Linked DNA regions of Homo sapiens: regions 2 and 3 are each linked to region 1. The links are contacts of gene promoters, found by promoter capture Hi-C in blood cells and fetal thymus (Javierre and others, 2016). All regions are on one chromosome and are shown on one strand. Each heading gives the region's core, a stretch centred on a gene start or on the middle of the fragment in contact. The rest is flanking DNA. Distances are from core to core; before and after follow the strand shown. Region 1 holds the start of PUM3 (pumilio RNA binding family member 3). Region 2 overlaps RIC1 (RIC1 partner of RAB6A GEF complex). Region 3 overlaps JAK2 (Janus kinase 2).

Region 1 (3,903 bases), core at 950-3,449:
GGGCTTCAACAAATGGCTAAGACTCATGCATCCACTACCACAGTATCTTACAGAAAAGTCCTGTCACTCTAAAAAGTCCCCTGGTACAGCTCCTTTGTATTCAACTCCTTCCCTCTTTCCTGACTGCCAATGATTAGGTTTTCACTCCTGTTTTGTCTTTTCCAGAATGGCATTCTTATACATGGAATCATACAATATGTAACTTTTTGAGTCTTGCTTTTTGCACTGGGCAAAATGCAATTTGCTTTGCTTGGGAACCCTGTACCTTCGTAATGAATCATCACATTCAATAGTGTCTCTTGGAATTCGCCCCCCTTTTTCCTTTCCCTCTATTACCCCATTCAGGCTCCTGTTACCTCTTGCTCAGTTTTGTTTAGATCCTATCTGCTTTGATCCACTTTCCGCTGCCTGATTAACCTTCCAGTAGCACACCTATTTCATGTCATTTCCATGCTCCAATAGCTTCAAAGCTTTCCCACTGCCTTCAGGAAAAAGTTCCAACTCAGGCATTCACAGCCATTCAAAATGTGGTCTTAATTCACCCCACTCATCACCACCACACAGGAGCCACTATTCTTATCAGAATAGTGAAGTTTAAAGCCATTCTCTCTACCAACACAATTTCTACCCATCCTTCAAATTCAGTTTAAATGACATTTTCTTATAGACCAACCTCTACATGTTAGCATTCCTCAAATCTTTGCCCTAGGGAACTTCCCTTCTCTCTCCACACTTCTCCCTAGGTGGTCTCATCCAATCTCCTGGCTTTTTATGCTGAGTACTCCCAAATCATGTCTCCATTATGAACTTCTCCTTGGGGTCCAAACTTGTGTATAACTGCTTATCTGATACCTCTAATTATGTGTCTAACAGGAACCTTACCCTTAATATGTCCAAAACATAATTCTCTATGTTGTTCTTTATGTTATTGTTGTTTGCCCCACAAACAACAATATACTATTTTTCCCTGCCCTATCGTCCTCCATCTCAGCCAATGGCACATCATCTACTTTACTGCTCAAGTAAGAAATCTGAGTTACCCTTGACATTTTCCTCTCTACTCTGCCACGCTGAACCATAAGTTAGTTCTCTTAAATGTCCCTTACGTCACCACCCTAATGCAAACTATTACCAATACAATCTCTTGAGCTTCCAAATGTAATACATTTTCTAAAGAGAACCAGGGCCTATTCATGATTCTCACTTGCTTACAAGTCTTCAATGTTTTCTACACATGGTAATAGGAACGGAAATGTTTTCCTATTGTACAGAAAAAAAAATTCCCCATCATGACCTTCAAGGCCCTACAGAACCTAGTTCCACTCTATCCGGCTAACTTTATCTTGTACTCTAACTATACTCCTTCCTAGCTCCCATCTCAGGAACTTAGCCCATTATCGCCTCTGCTTGAAGTACTCCCTGAGCTTCCAAATCTCCGTTTAAAGATCACTTCTTCAGACTCCACTATCTGCCAACTCAGCATCCAGTTCGTTTCCTCCCAGCACTTAGAATCTGCGTACATTCAGGCAAACCGCCTAGCACTGGAGTTGGGGTTTGTGAAGTAGCACAGACAGGCTGATCAGGCCGAGCACGGGCTGGGATTCCGGAGTGAAGCTAGTCCACTCTAACCCGGCACGCAGGGCAACGTGGTGGGAGAGAGGTCGGAGTCCCGCCCTTCTTTTTTTTTTTTTTTTTTTTTTTGAGACGGAGTCTTGCTCTGTCTCCCAGGCTGGAGTGTAGTGGCACGATCTTGGCTCACTGCAAGCTCCGCCTCCCGGGTTCACGCCATTCTCCTGCCTCAGCCTCCCAAGTAGCTGGGACCACAGGCGCCCGCCACCATGCCCGGCTAATTTTTTGTAGTTTTAGTAGAGACGGGGTTTCACCGTGTTAGCCAGGATGGTCTCGATCTCCTGACCTTGTGATCCGCCCGCCTCGGCCTCCCAAAGTGCTGGGATTACAGGCGTGAGCCACCGCGCCCGGCCAGTCCCGCCCTTCTTGCCAGGCTCCAGTCAGTCCCAAACTCCTAGCCCAGAAAGAGGCCAGAGGAGACTGCCCAGTGGACAACAGCCCCGAGAGACCTTCCCGACTTCCAGCGCCCGGCAGGGTGCGAACCCCTCCCAAGAGCGACCGCTGAGCCTGCCACACTCACCGCACACGTGGGACCGAGACAGCTCGCGCAGCGGATCCCGACCGCCTCTCCGCTTCCGCTTCCTTGCCTTGCTCCGCCCCCGGGCCGCTTTTTTTCATCTTCCGCGGCGGATCAGGGACTAAGAGGTGGAGCTTCCCAGAGAATACAAAAATTCGGAATTTCTATTGGTCCGCTGCTGTTATGCCTCCTCTTGAGGCGCGAGGATTTTGGCCCTTGCAAGAATCCGTCGGGCGGAGGACGCGACAACGGCCACGGGAAATGACGTCATTAACCCTGTGGCTTCCGTGCTGGAAAGAGAGGGAGAGCTCTTGCGAGGCAGAACAGGCTGCTGAAGGACAGACCTGGCTGGCGCGGTTAATAAGAGGCCTGCATCCCGTAGCCTGAACAAATATTGAAGTAGCTAAAGTTTCTAAAGTGTGTTAATTTGCATACTTCCTCAGCAGTCCAGCGTGGAGGATAAAAGGGGTATCTTGTGAGTCGATTTGAATTGTAATCCCGTTTTTTTCACTTGCTAGCTGTGTGGCTCTGGGAAAATTACAGTTTTTATGAGCTTTGGCTTCCTGATCAATAAAATAGAAATAATTAAGTGATACGTGCAAAGCGCTTAGCATGGAACGCTCTCAATAAATGTTTGCCATTTTTAGTGTCTGCTCGTGCCTGGAAACTGCTGTTATTCCATTTTATACTTCAGGAAATAAGATTGTGGTTAGGATATATGCCCCATTTTCCAGATGAAGAAACTGACACCACAAACTTGCTCGTGTCAAGCAACAGAATTTTATTCTTTAACTGTTCTAGAGGCAAGAATTCCAAAATCAAGCTGTTGGCAGAGCCCTGCACCTTTTGAAGGCTCTAGGGGAGAATGCTTTGCTTCTTCAGCTTCTAACGGTTCCAGGCGGTCCGTGGCCTCTTGTTGCATGACTCCAATCTCGGCCTGTCTTCTAATGGCCTTCTCCTGTGCCTGTGCCACTTCTCTGTGTGTTTTTAGGACACTGAACATTGAATTTAGAGTCCACGGGGATAATCCAAGATCATCTCATCTGGAGGTCCTTAATCACATCTGCAAAGGCCCTTTTCCCAAATAAGGTCACTTTCACATGTCCTGGGAGTTAGGACATAGACATATCTTTTGGAGACTATTCAACCCACTGCATCTGTAAAGTTGAGGAACTGGCACTTGATCCCTGGTGCCAGACTTCAGATTTTACTGTCTTCCAACTTACTCCGTTTTCTGGCCACTAAGGAGTTAGAGTTGAAACTGGTAATTTAGTAGACTGTATGCTTCTTGATGACAGGGGCCATCATTACTTTCCAGGCACTTATCTCACTATGCAGCACATAGATACTTGATAAGTTCTTGTCGTCTACCTTAACTGTTACTAGTTTACATTTCAGCTCATTTAAATCTCATAAGAACGTTTTAAATAGGTCTTTTCTCATTTTACAGAGAAAGGCAAAACATAGTAGCTTTGGTCCAGTGAGCCTGACTCTAAACTCAACGTGGCTGCCTCCGTACTGCTTTCAATAATTCAGTAAATGCTAAGAGAAGAGAATATGGAACAGGAATTGCAGGAGGCCCATCAGCTGTGCCTTTTGGGCAAATAGCATAGTAGTGGGGATATTAGACACCTTGAAACACCTGACAAGTAAATGCTGGCCAAAAAGAAAGAAAAATCGCAAAATACACCCTATCACACAACCCTGGGAAGGGATACGTTTGTGTTTTCAACTCGACAGACAGCAGCACCCCATAT
Region 2 (3,903 bases), core at 385-2,884, 2.8 Mb after region 1:
AGACTTTCGTCTAAAATTTAACTTTTCTTACCTTTAAAAAGGCAGACCTAACTTAATTTTAAATAAAAGTAAACAATATGACCTATGAATTGACCAGAAGCCTGTAAACCACTTTATTCCCCCATAAGAGAAGCATAAACATATGCTTTAATTTAGGGACATTGTGAATATTCTTAAGCATGTCTATTGTTTGGTTTTGGAGTTACATACGACATCTAGAAATCCAAGGCAGTTCTGGAATTTAAACTATTCATACTCTTCTTTCAAATTCCCACCTCACATGCAACTTCCTTTTTCCACAGAAGTCCAGGGACCCCTACTATTAAGTTCTGTTGTGCAAAAGTTAGGCTGTAGGGAACCCATGGGTTTAGAGGTCTGGAGTGAAATGAAATGCAGGAATACCTTAGAGGAGGCTGTATAGTACTGTAGTATGAGTGGTTAACCTTGGTCTCTGGGCACCAGCTTTGTTGTCACTGAAAAAAATCAGATATTCACGAGGTCAAGAGATCGAGACCATCCTGGCCAACATGGTGAAATCCCGTCTCTACTAAAAATACAAAAAAATAGCTGGGCGTGGTGGTGCACGCCTATAGCCCCAGCTACTCGGGAGGCTGAGGCAGGAGAATCGCTTGAACCCAAGAGGCAGAGGTTGCAGTGAGCCAAGATCCCACCACTGCACTCCAGCCTGGCGACAGAGCAAGACTCTGTCTCAAAAAAAAAAAAAAAAAAAAATCAAATATTGAACCAAGTGATTATAAGGTGTATGATTACATGCCTAGGTGAGTGGGATACATATGCTAGACTCCAGCTTCCAATCTTCTCTTCCTGGGATATGCCCTTTCTTACTCTGTATGAAAGTTTTCATTTTGATTTTCTAATTTGTAAACTTCCTGAAAGTATGTAAGTTAATTAGGTTAACAAACTTCATTTAAAAGTGAAAATGCCTTTAGGTAAATTAAAGGGCTATCAGTTATACTTCCATAATTTAGAGTGAATTGGTTTAAAAAGTTCTCATGGAGCTGCTAAAAGCTTTGATTTTTGAGAGGCTGTAGATACAAGTAGTTTTATAATAATATGTGAAGATCTACAGGATTTTACAGAGTTGAAGTCTTACAGCTGCTTGAGGGCATTTGAAGGCAGGGAGACATGCTCGTAGAGATGATAAAACAAGATTTGCTTACCTGAAATTTTGTTAGGGCTCACTTAGTAAATCAGGCTCTCTTAGGAGTGATATATTTTAAAAAGAGACAACTAGCCTTGTGGAAGGGACAGTCGTTTAGTAGTCTAAGCTGGTTGTTTCAATGTTCAAAAGAATTGTGGAAATTGTATGTGTACAGTGATAATTCATAAGACTGAATCTCTATTAAAATCTCTAACTGTACATTATATGGGTCTTCTAATGAACTTTTATGTACTACTTATACCTACTGTCCTCTATTCTAAGTAGGTATTCGGAATTCCACTGTTTAGACTCATATCTCTTCAGAATTATTTCCTACCCCAAATTTGAGAAATACAGTATAGTGTTGTTTATGAACAAAAGAGCCTCTAGATAGTTACTTAGCTTTTTTATATTGGAGCCCCAATATTATATTTTGGAGCCCCCCAAATGGTGTTAAAAAAAGGCTCAGTATGTGTAGGCTAGATTGGGGTGGTAGAGGTAGAACTTGACTGGGGGCAGTTGGTACATTTCTGCTAAGGTTATTGTAAAAGGACTAGTTTCAGCTTTGAGGATGAAACTGTTGCATAAGGTAGGTTATGATTTATGATTGACGTAGGTGTAGTGTGAGATGAATTACATTTTGTACTGTACTGAGGGCCCAGAATTATTCCTTTAATATACTAACTGTGACTATGAAAGTCTATATATGTGAACATCAGAATGGTATCTTTGAATTTAGCCATTCTAAATTAGATGTATAGACATTCTCGTTTTTCAGGTCACCGACTTTAAACATTTAAATTAGCTTCAGAAGTATTTTTGAACATCAACTGTAAAAGACAGATGTGTATAAAAGGGATGAAGAGACATGTTATATGTTAGTGTGTTAGATGTTAGTGTGTTAATATAAATCTTGTGAGATATCACTGTTGTAGGTAGCTAATAAAAAGCTGAAATGGGCAAATAATTACTAGGCTTATAAAATAAATTATATGTCGTTTAGTAATCCTGAGCAAAAACTTAGTTCCCATTGGTATGTGCTAATCATGGAAAAAAACAATGATATGTCAAAAGAACCAAGCTTTGGATCAGGTATGTGATTAACTGTGTTGACCTCAGGAAGACCATTTTATTTGTATTTTCCCAGCATTCCCATTTCTCACCCTTTTAACTCTATTACTTTCTCCAGAGAGCCTTCTTTATAAATTCACTGCTCTGAAGTCTTCTAGGGTTCACTGTTGATGAAAGAATGGAGTTCAAACTCCTTAGTTTGATATCACAGACACTCCCTTCTTGGAATGCTCTCTTGCCTCATTTCTGCCTGTCAGAGTATTATCTATCCTTTAACTGCTGTTGAAATCCTTTCTTTATGAGTCATTCTTTACCTACCGTAACCATAAGTGTTCATTTTTCTGATGAACTACTGCTTCCCCACTACTGCCAGCTTTGTTGAGGTATAATTGACAAATAAAAATTGTATATATTTAAGGTGTGCTGTGCGATACTTAGATCTACCCTGTGAGTTGATAATCACAATCAGTCTAATTAACAGATCCACCATCTCACACAGCTCCCTCTTTTTTTGTATGTGGGATGAGAACACTTAAGACCTACTCTCTTAGCAAATTTCAAGTATACAATATATGTTAATTATGGAAATAAATGTCATTATTAACGATAGTTACTGGGCCATGCATTAGGTCCCCAGAACGTATTCATCTTATACCTGAAAATTTGTACCTTTGACTGAAATACTCCCATTTCACCCACCTCCCAGCCCCTGGTAATCATCGTTCTATTCTCTGTTCCTATGAATTTGACGTCTTTATATTCCATATATGAGATCATGAAGTTGTTTTTTGTCTTGCTTACTTAGTATACTGTCCTTAAGTTTTGTCCATGTTGTTGCAGATGGCAGGATTTCCTTGTTTTTTAAAGGCTGAATAATATTTTATGTGTGTATGTGTGTGTGTTACATTTTCTTTATCCATTCATCTATTGACAGACACTTAGGTTGTTTCTGTATCTTGGCTACTTTGAATAATGCTGCAATGAATATGAAAGTGCAGATATCTCTTTGAGATACTGATTTCAATTCCTTTGGATATATACCTAGAAGTAGGATTGTTGGATCATGTGGTAGTCCTGTTTTTAGTTTGAGGAACTTCTGTTTTCCATCATGACTGTACCATTTTGCAGTCCCGTCAATAGTGTACAGGGAGGGGATCCCTTTTCTCCACGTCTTTGCCGACCTTGTTATGATTTAACTTCTTGATAATAGATATCCTAACAGGTGTGAGGTATCTTATGGTTTTGATTTGCATCTCCCTGATGATTAGTGTATTGAGCACCTATTGGCCATTGGCTGTTTTTTGGTAAAACATCTGTTCAGATCTCTTGTCCATTTTTAAATTAGGTTATCTGTTTTGTTTTTTTCTCGGTACTGAGTTGTATGAGTTCCTTACATATCTTGAATATTAGCCCCCTTTTAGATGTATGGTTTGCAGATATTTTCTCCTATTCCATAGGTTGCTTTTTTATCTTGTTGATTGTTTTCTTTACTGTACAATAACTTAATTTCATGTAATCCTACTTGTTTATTTTTGCTTTTGTCACCTGTGCTTTCCATGTCATCCAAAATACCATCGTGAAAACAGATGTCAGGGTGTTTTTCCCCTGTTTTCTTCTAGGATTTGCATGGTTTCAGGTTTTACATTTAAGTCTTTGATCCTTCTTCTTAT
Region 3 (3,903 bases), core at 656-3,155, 2.1 Mb after region 1:
ACTGCTGCTTCTGTTTTTAGGTTTCAGAAGCAGGCAACAGGAACAAGATGTGAACTGTTTCTCTTCTGCAGAAAAAGAGGCTCTTCCTCCTCCTCCCGCGACGGTGGGTGTGCTGTCCTTTATCGCTGCAGTAAAGGCGAAGGTGTCTGGAGCTGGGAGTGCGTGCGTAGGGAAGGTTGGAAGCGTGTGAAGAGAGGCAGGGCTCATTGTTGCTTACTCTTCTGAAAATGTCAGTGCTAAACTTTTAATGTTGATCTGGGAGAGTAATTTTGGGGTGTTTTGTTGTTCGTCTTGGATCCTTTAAGAAACATTTTTTTGTTGGCTTTACACATAACGTGACTTTGCAGAGAAACGAAAAACGTTGTCCATTACCCTTTCTTCTTAAGCAGCCAGAGATTCTTAATCCTTTAAAGAGGAGTATTTCCAAGCAATAAGAGATAGCTTTTGGGAGAACACGTTAGCTATTCTTGCTGGGGTTTCTGCTACCACATTGAATGTTTCCTCATGGTTTTATCTGCCTAAGCTTGCTGTGTCGGTTGAATTTACCCAGTTTGTTTTCCAGTAATTACTAATCTGTTAGGAGAAACTCCATTTCTCTGAATGAAAGGGTAGGAGCGGCTGAGTATGGAGAAGGAAACTGGAAGTGGGAATAAGGGAAATGATTGCTTTTGGTTTCATAATAAGTTTGTACAGTGAGTTGTTGGGCTACTGCAAATAAAGATTTTGTATCCCTTCTCCAGAATGCTTGGGACCAAAAGTGTTTTGGATTTTTTTTAAAAATTTTGGAATGTTTGCATATACAAAATCAGACATCTTGAGGATGGGACCCAAGTGTAAATACGAAATTCGTTTGTTTCATATAGACCTTATTCACACAGCCACTAAGTCATTTGCAATATTTTTAATACGTCTGTGCATGAAACAAAGTTTGTATTAAGTACCTATGCGGGGAATTTTCCCCTTGTAGCATCATGTTGGTGCTCAAAATGTTTCAGATTTTGCAGCTTTTCAGATAAGGGATGATCAGCTTGTATTTTGATATAACACCCAGAACATTTGAAGATGAATAATCAATTTTTGGCCTCCCTTCCCCCATCCGCCTCACCTTATACCACTTTAAGTGTGAGAATTATTTGCTTGTACATGCATTTGTCTGTTGGTGTGTAACGTATGTACAGACTGGATGTATCCAGCACTTGCCTTAATAGTACATGTATTTACCTGAATAGGAAAGCTGCAGTACTTGCTGGCCAGAAGAGCACACCATGCTTGTTTTTGCTCTAACTGAATATCCTGTATTTGCAATTTATAGCAGTTTTAGGGACTCATTAGGGAATTTTGTGTGTGTGTGCCTTTGGTGATTTGAGACAGGTGTCTCAGATATGGGAAGGGAATATGACATTGTTTCTCTTTCACCTGGCTATTACTGAAAGGTGGGATGCTTTTGAGGCAGAATAGGAAAGTGCATTGGCTTTGGAGTGAGATCTGGATTTGAATCCTGGTGTTCTTGCCACTTAAGAGTTGCATTATTTACGGCTGGTCATGGTGGCTCACGCCTGTAATCCCAGCACTTTGGGAGGCTGAGGAAGGAGGATCACTTGAGGTGAGGAGCTTGAGACCAGCCTGGCCAACATGGTGAAACCCCATCTCTACTAAAAATACAAAAATTAGCCGGGCGTGGTGGTGCACACCTGTAATCCCAGCTACTCGGGAGGGTGAGGCAGGAGAATTGCTTGAACCTGGGAAGTGGTGGTTGCAGTGAGCCGAGATCTCACCACTGCACTCCAGGCTGGGCAACACAGCAAGACTCTGTCTAAAAAAAAAAAAAAAAAGAAAGAAAAAAAGAGTTATATTATTTACGACTCTTTTAGCTTCACTTTCTTATAAGATTGTTGTGAGAAGTGAGTAAGACACATGCAAAGTGGTAAACTGCCTGGCTGTCATAAAAGTCTTGGCTACTATCACGGCTGGGAGGCAAAGGAGATTCAGAGAAGGGCAGAATGACTGCATAAGGTGATCTGCCTGTAACTCGTGTTTCCTCCTTTCTAGTATAAAGAGATAAAGGACTTCAAGGTCTTAAACTGGTGAGGGAGTATTACAGCCTTTGTATGGAAAGGTTTGACTTTGTGTCTCTGCTTAAACCCCCATTGTGTTGCCCCTACCAATTATTGTGCTGCCCCCTTGTGGTTAACTGTGCTAAGACCTTTCTTTTGCTCTTCTCCCATTACATTTCCCACCCTTCCCCACTCCCTTTTAGACCCCTCCTCTTAGCTCCCAGTTTCCCAAACTGTGTGCCAAGGTGCCCAGAGCACCTCAGGCTTGAACTTGTGTTTTGAGTTGGTTCATGGTTTCAATATTAGATACCTACACCCGTTTCTACAATGTCATGTCTTTGTAAAGATGTATTTTCAGAGGTTGCTCCGATAAAAAGCAACTACTACATGAAAATGAATGTAGAACAGGAAATGACAGTGTGGTATTGTCCAATTTGATTCTAAGGTTTGATAAGTTCTACAGTGCTCTACACTAAGTTGTAAGGACATAACTACTAAGTAAGTTGTTCAAACCTATTTCTTTTGGCCTGGGGGTGTCGTGAAAAATTTGCTAAGACTCAGAGCTCCCTGAATGGGTTTGGAAACCTCTGCCTTAGCTTTTAGTTTGCTTTTCTGATAAAATTATTGATATAAAGCTAGTACCAGCTGATCATGGCTTAATATATTTCCTCTCCTATGTAATATGTTTATAACTTCTGCCCAGTTCTTTCATTTTAAAACTAATCCTATTGCTAACTTGTTGTACTAGTCACTTCCTGGTTTTTCCTGTACTGGTCTTCTGCTTCTACTTCTGTTCATCTCCTTAAACTCCGAATGCCCCAAGTGAAAGTTACCATTTTCTACCCCTTAATTTTCTTCTAATCATGTAGGCTTTAAATTAGGCATCATCTTTAAACTACTTCTTTCATTTACCTCTTATTCCCATTCAAAATGTCCATATTTCCTTTCTTTCTCATATCTCTGCTTTCCCTCCTTTACTGTGTGAATCCCAGGACACATTTCCTGAGCCTAGAATATTGAAAGTCATTTGAACTTCTGAGAATTCAGTGTCCCTTCCTTCTGTTTATCCTCAATAGAGATTCCACTCTAATACTCCTTATTATAGCATTCCCTTGCCCCAAAACCTTCAGTGGCTTACCATTTTCTACTTATTAAATTTTCCTGACTTTTAAGATAGTCTATTATCAATCCCTGCCCTATTTATTTAGTCTTTTGTCTAAGGATCTCTAGTCCTTAAGCTTGTAAGCTGATTTCCACACTTTCTAATAATAAGCTATGCTTCTTCTATCCTTTAATTTTTGCCCATGTTCTCCATCCCTCTTTTTTTTCCTCTATTTCTGTAGCTCTTTAGTCTTAGAACATTTTCACATGGTTTAATTATATGCCATGCTTTAGTTGTTTGATAGTTATTTCCCTAGTGTTAGCCATATCTTTTCAAGTTGATTGTGTATTCTTTGAGGAGCAGTACCTTAGATTAAAAAAAAACCACAACACACAGTGGAGAGCACATGGGCAGCATTCAAGAAATACATGTTGATTGTGTGATAAGGAACTGTAGTCACCAAACAAATATTTGTTAATACTTGCAATGTAAAAGGTACTTGGCTGTATTCAAAAGAGAAATAAAGAAATATAAAATAGGCTCCTTTCCCTAAGGACTTACAGTATAATTGGGCAGATAAGCTAAATAATAAAAGTTACAGATATTTAAGACCACTTGAGTTGAGCAGAGATTTTGCATAATAGGAAGGAACTGGTAGAGGGGGTAAGCAAAGGCAAAATATGTATATATGTATGATATGTTCAGAGAGCAGTACATAAATAACTTGACTGAAATGAAGATTTGTGT

Evidence for each region. The method cuts DNA at HindIII sites, captures the fragments that hold promoters and counts their contacts. A CHiCAGO score of 5 or more calls a contact.
Region 2: a fragment that was not itself captured here is called in contact with the fragment with the promoter of PUM3 in region 1 in 1 of 17 cell types (non-activated CD4 T cells); the score reaches 5.0 in non-activated CD4 T cells.
Region 3: a fragment that was not itself captured here is called in contact with the fragment with the promoter of PUM3 in region 1 in 2 of 17 cell types (fetal thymus and activated CD4 T cells); the score reaches 7.3 in fetal thymus.

Annotation. Positions count from the first base shown.
Region 1 is chr9:2,841,896-2,845,798 of GRCh38, forward strand. It overlaps PUM3 (pumilio RNA binding family member 3), which reads right to left and starts at 2,200. Exons shown (of 18, transcript NM_014878.5): 1 at 2,150-2,200. RefSeq lists enhancers at 1,229-1,790, 2,174-2,468, 2,292-2,531. The HindIII fragment of the contact is 3,665 bases long and covers 469-3,903 here.
Region 2 is chr9:5,630,975-5,634,877 of GRCh38, forward strand. The region is part of intron 1 of RIC1 (RIC1 partner of RAB6A GEF complex); the gene reads left to right. Among named protein-coding and RNA genes, the nearest start is that of INCR1, 3.2 kb to the left of the region's middle. The HindIII fragment of the contact is 1,214 bases long and covers 1,028-2,241 here.
Region 3 is chr9:4,985,920-4,989,822 of GRCh38, forward strand. It overlaps JAK2 (Janus kinase 2), which reads left to right. Exons shown (of 25, transcript NM_004972.4): 2 at 21-103. Among named protein-coding and RNA genes, the nearest start is that of JAK2, 2.6 kb to the left of the region's middle. RefSeq lists an enhancer at 106-155. The HindIII fragment of the contact is 2,769 bases long and covers 522-3,290 here.